Linked DNA regions of Homo sapiens: region 1 is linked to region 2. Evidence: promoter capture Hi-C in 16 types of primary human blood cells and fetal thymus (Javierre and others, 2016). All regions are on one chromosome and are shown on one strand. The core of a region is centred on a gene start or on the middle of the fragment in contact, and the rest is flanking DNA. Distances in the headings are between cores, read along the strand shown.

What was found. Contacts are between HindIII fragments. The CHiCAGO score rates a contact against its expected background, and 5 or more counts as called.
Region 1: a contact is called between a fragment that was not itself captured here and the fragment with the promoter of PC in region 2, in 1 of 17 cell types (endothelial precursors). The highest score is 5.2, in endothelial precursors.

The regions. Positions count from the first base shown.
Region 1 is chr11:66,708,760-66,711,459 of GRCh38, forward strand. It overlaps SPTBN2 (spectrin beta, non-erythrocytic 2), which reads right to left. Exons shown (of 38, transcript NM_006946.4): 9 at 2,158-2,270; 10 at 1,823-2,010; 11 at 143-260. Among named protein-coding and RNA genes, the nearest start is that of SPTBN2, 19 kb to the right of the region's middle. The HindIII fragment of the contact is 2,305 bases long and covers 207-2,511 here.
Region 2 is chr11:66,957,077-66,959,776 of GRCh38, forward strand. It overlaps PC (pyruvate carboxylase), which reads right to left and starts at 1,307. Exons shown (of 23, transcript NM_001040716.2): 1 at 1,246-1,307. RefSeq lists enhancers at 1-101, 1,265-1,314 and silencers at 965-1,064, 1,385-1,744. The HindIII fragment of the contact is 4,821 bases long and covers 1-2,067 here.

The sequences.
Region 1 (2,700 bases), core at 109-2,608, 250 kb before region 2:
GGCAGAGTGCTCGAGTTTCAAGTTGGGGCAGCAGATAGTAGAACTTGGTGAAGGTCGACATGGCCCCGGGTTTGGGGATGTGTGCAAGGCATCTGGGCCAGGGCCTGCCCTGAGGGTGGGTGGCCTGTGGGCAGCCACGGACCTTGTTGATGTCCGAGATGAGCCGGCCCTCGCGGGGCGTGTAGACCTTCTGGTTGTTGGCCCGAAGCTTGCTCTGGATGGTGAAGAGCAGCACTTCCAAGTTCCCTTTCTCGGTAAACCTGAGGCAGGAGGCCGGGTTGGGGTCAGAATTAAAGCCCACGAGGGTCACAAGGACTCTTTACTCTTCCAAATGGGTGTCCTGTGTTGCTTTTCTTCTTACAAAAGCAATATAAACTTTTTATGTGGAAGCCAGAAAATATGGGCTAACCAAAAGAACATCATTTTATTTTATTTTGAGACAGAGTCTTGCTTTGTCACCCAGGCTGGAGTGCAGTGGTGCGATCTGGGTTCGCTGCAACCTCTGCCTCCCGGGTTCAAGCCAATCTCTTGCCTCAGCCTCCCGAGTAGCTGGGATTACAGGCATGCACCACCACACCTGGCTAATTTATGTATTTTTAGTAGAGATGGGGTTTCACCATGCTGGCCAGGCTGGTCTCAAACTCCTGACCTCAAGTGATCCACCCGCCTCAGTCTCCCAAAGTGCTGGGATTACAGGCATGAGCCACGGTGCCCAGCCAAAATAATTCTTTTATAACCTATTTCCCCCACTTATTTTTCATGAACACCTTTCCATGTCAATAAATGCATTTCTTTAATATTATTTTCAGTGGCTGCCCATGACTTATTTTTCTTTTCTAGTGGTTGTGTTGATAAACATCCTTGAAGCTACATCTTTGTTTAATGTCCAGAAGACAACTTCCTAGGTTAAAGGGTACACCTTAAATCATTCCCTGGAATGTATAGAAACAATTGTTTTCTGGACTAATATTAGTTTCAGAGCTGATATATATTAACTCCAAAAGAACTCCATGACAGCATAAACACAGACGTTTTGGCAGGTACTGAACAGAATTGCCTAACAGCAATCACATACTTGGAACAGTTAATTGCTAAAATACTGAAATGATAAGAACCTCTGCAATTCTCACGTTACCAGCCACACCCATGTTGCCGGTTGTGACCTGCCTGTCAGGTCCAGTCCCCTCTATCCTATGCTAGGATTGGGTTGCCATGACACCTGATCAGTAATCTTATCTGATGGATCGCACTGACTCAACACATCATAGCAATCATTTCCACAGCATGTTTGTTTGTTTTTTGAGACGGAGTCTTGCTCTGTCACCCAGGTTGGAGTGCAGTGGCGTGATCTTGGCTCACTGCAACCTCTGTCTCCCGGGTTCAGGTGGTTCTCCTGCCTCAGCCTCCCGAGTAGCTGGGATGACAGGCGTGTGCCACCATGCCCAGCTAATTTTTTTGTAATTTTAGTGGAGACGGGGTTTCACCATGTTGGCCAGGCTGGTCTCAAACTCCCGACCTCAGTAGAGATGGGGTTTCACCATGTTGGCCAGACTGGTCTCGGTGATGCGCCCGCCTTGGCCTCCCAAAGTGCTGGGATTACAGGCGTGAGCCACCATGCCCGGCCCACAGCATGATTTTTAAAAACGACTAATCATTAAAAAATTTTATTTTGTATCAACTATGTTGTTTGGATGCTTCTGGTGTGGGAAATCTCCACTGCATTTATGTACTGCCAAATTTCCCTCCCTGAAGGCTGTGCTAATTTAGGCTTCCTCTCGTGGGAGCACAGCTCAGGGAAGGGTGGGGCCCCAGGGACACCTACTTGGGCGGCTTCTCCACGGTGCGGTAGGAGTTGAAGGACTGCAGCTGGTTCTGGACCCCGCTAAGGGAGTTGGCCAACTGCCGGTCATTGAGGGTCACGATCGTTTGCTCGATCCACTGCAGCAGCTCCGAGGCCAGGGACTCGTATTTCTCCACCAGGCGCTCTGCCTCCATGGCATGGTCCAGCACCTGGGAGGCAGAAGACAGGGACGTGACAGTCCCAGCCACAGGGTCCCTGGCCCAGTCCTGCAGCTCCACCCTGCCCTTGCACTAGGGCAGTAAGACCCCTCAGCCGGGCCTCCTCTGGCCTTTATGCCTACTGCCCATGGACAGTACCTTGCCAATTCTCTTGCCTTCCACGGCCAGGGCCTTCATCTTGGAGAAGTAATGGTAGTAAGTAGCCACATAGGTAATGATTGACTTCTCATCTGGCTGGTCCACATTCACGTCTGCAAGAGAGGACCATTTGGGTCAGGCCTCCCAGAAGTTCATCCATAACTTGCATCACTTACCCCAAACCCTGGGCCTGCCCAGTCCTCCAAGGCTGACATCTCTCCATCTCCTTTTAGAGCAAAATGACAACTTACCCATTCAAATGAAAAGGGCACCAAAAAGCTCATCTTTTTTTCCCCTTCTCCTGGAAACAAGAAGGGCCCTCCAAGCAGAGCACAAACCCCAGAAGCACAAGGAAGCTTTTACCCAGAGTTCCCCGTGGAGACCAAAATCAGTTGTTTGGGGAAGAAAAGCAAGAAAAGAAACAGCATTGCTATGTGGGGATGGATCATGGACTTTTAGGCTAGAATAATGTTTAAGAAGTCAATGGATTGAGGGGCAGTGGGACGGAAGGTATGAACTAAGCCTCCTGAACCTAGGATGCTC
Region 2 (2,700 bases), core at 57-2,556:
GAGAAATGCTGAGCACATCCACCCCCAGCACAAGTGTTTGCATCACATACAGGGAAAGGGTGCCTTGGGGGAGGCCAGCCAGGGCTGATGGTGGCAGTGGGTACGGGAGCAATAGGGAGGCAGATGGCAGGCACTCTGGAGGTTCTGGTTGTCATCAGCAAGTGTTGGTACTTCTCTGAGCCTGTTTTCTCAGCTGGAGAACGGGTAAGGAGCCCAGGCCTACCTCTTCTCACAAAATAAAGACACAATCTGATTTTTTAGAATTTCAGACGAGGCACGCCTGTAATCTCAGCACTTTGGGAAGCCAGGGCAGGCCGCTCGCTTGAGCGTAGGAGTTCGAGACCAGCCTGGGCAACATGACGGAACCTCGTCTCTACCAAAAAATACAAAAATTAGCTAGGCGTGGTGGCGCCCGCCTGTAGTCCCAGCACTGGGGGACTGTGGCAGGAGGGTCGCTTGAGCCCGGGAGGTCGAGACTGCAGTGAGCCGAGATCGCGCCACTGCACTCCAGCCTGGGTGGGTGACAGCAAGACCCTGTCTAAAAAAGAAAAGAAAACAAAAGAATCTCAAAGTTGCCAGGGACCTAGGGACTTGGCTTCCGACTCTGATGCGCTTTGTAAACTACTAAAAGCTGGAGAAATAAGGGGCTGAGCCCAGCCCCACCTCCTGAATGAGCGGCCTTGGGCGAATCACTGCGTCTGGGCGCCTGGAGCTTCCCCGTCTGAAACAAAGTAGAGGATCCTACGGGAGGCGGAGTGCGAGAGCAAGGAACAAGGAAAGCCCTCGCCTTACACGCCGCGGCTTCCTGCAGAGCTGAGCCACATCCAGTACGATGGGGACAACTTGGGCTCCCGATCCTGACAGACTTGGGTTCGAACCCTCAGGGACCTCGCGCGAGGCGCTTTAGTCAGTTTCTCCATCTGCAAAATGGGCCCGAGAGCAAGAATGAGGCAGCCCGCAGGCGGACGCTGCGGAGGGGCGCTCGGGGGCTGCAGCCGGGGGCGGGTCCGGGGGCGGGTCCAGCCGGCCGAGCCCCCGCGCGAGGGGGAGGGGCGCCGTCCGCTGCGTCGCGTCGCGCACCGCGCACAGCCCGTCGCTGTCTCCTCCAGCCGTCACTCGCGGAGCCCGCGCCGCCTTTGCGCGCGCGACCCTTACATAAGCGTCCCTCGCAGCGGTGCCGGCGCACGTCCACCCGCTCCGACCCGCCGCGGGAAGAGGACCGTGCGGAGCGCGGCGGACACTCACCTCCTCGCCGTCGCCAGTCCTCGCCGCCGCCTCTACCGCTGCTGCCTCCACTGACAGAGAACAGCTGCGGTCTCCGTGCAACCGAACTTGCTGCAGTCCCGGCCCCGCCTTACGGACTTCCTATTGGCCCAGACAGCCCAACCCCTCCCGTTATTGGGCAGTGTTCTCCGTCACTCCTCGCCCCTAGGCTCTGGACTCCTCCCTGTGCCCGCCTGTCCGTCACGTTTAAGCCTTGGCGCCCCACGTCAGCCCCGCCCCTCCCGTCCCCGGCGAGCGCCTGGATAAGTGGCGAGGCTGGGAGAGCCCGCCCCTGGCGCACCACCGCCTACTCCCTTGTCTCCGGAGCCTCACGTGGGCCGCCGGACCCTAGCCGACGCCCGCAATAGGCGGAAGTGGCCGGGCTGTGGCTCGCAGTTATTGGCTGTCGGCGGGGGTGGGGACGTTCGATTCATTCACCCGAGTAGCACGTGTCTCCCGAAGCTGCAAGCACAACAGTTCGCACTGGGGCTCAGGCATCCCGGCTAGACGCAGATACGCGCTGGCTAGCGGAGAAGAGGTCGCAGGAAAAGCTAACGTTAGCGAAGGGCAGGAGGAAGGAGAAGGCGCTTGTGCCACACGGGTTACATGACTATGTCCTTTAACAGCTGCGTAGATGATGATGGGGGTCTACAGTACGTCTGTGTGACCTTGGGCAAGCAACTTAACCTCTGAGTCTCGGTTTTGTCATCTGCAGAGCGAAGCTACTCAGGACCTAGGGGGTTTGGAAGCCTTGTTTGAGACACAAGACACTTGACAAGACCCAAGACACTTGTCAAAGAGGAAAGCTTTGACAAGTGGAACAAGTGACTGAGGCATAAGTCTCTGTCATCGAGGCTTATTAATCCAGTTTGAGGGCGTGCTCGGGAAAAACACGAACCACAGACACATCCGTGGTTGTTTTTCCGAAGAGGTTTTCGGGAGGTTTAGTATTTATGCATTTCCTTAAAGGGGGAATGAGGGGAAGGCATGTAGGAAGAAGGGCAAGTAGGCGATTAGGACAATAGTTACATTCCTATGGGACTTTAGCTAATGCCCGGTAAATCTACGTAAGATGAGATGAATGTCTGAAGAGAAAAAGAGAGTAAAGGAAGAGTCAGTTATGCAGATGTCTCTGAGTAGGTAGTTTTGACTTTGTTCTGCACCTGGGAAAATAAGCTTGTAATGACATTCTTATTGTGGAATTTTTAGGAGCTAGACTTAGATTGTAGACCTGAAGCTACAATTGACCTGTCCTTGTTTATGGGAGGCCAGCAAGAATTTACTTGTGAATGATCTGTGGGGGCAGCCCTTCCCAAATGCCTGAGGTTTTTACCTTTCCGTGTGGATATGGCTGATGCCTAATGCTAGTAACAGCTATTCTTTTGGAAGAGGGTGTTGCAGTGACTCAGCTTCAAGGCTTAATCTTCACTTTCGCAT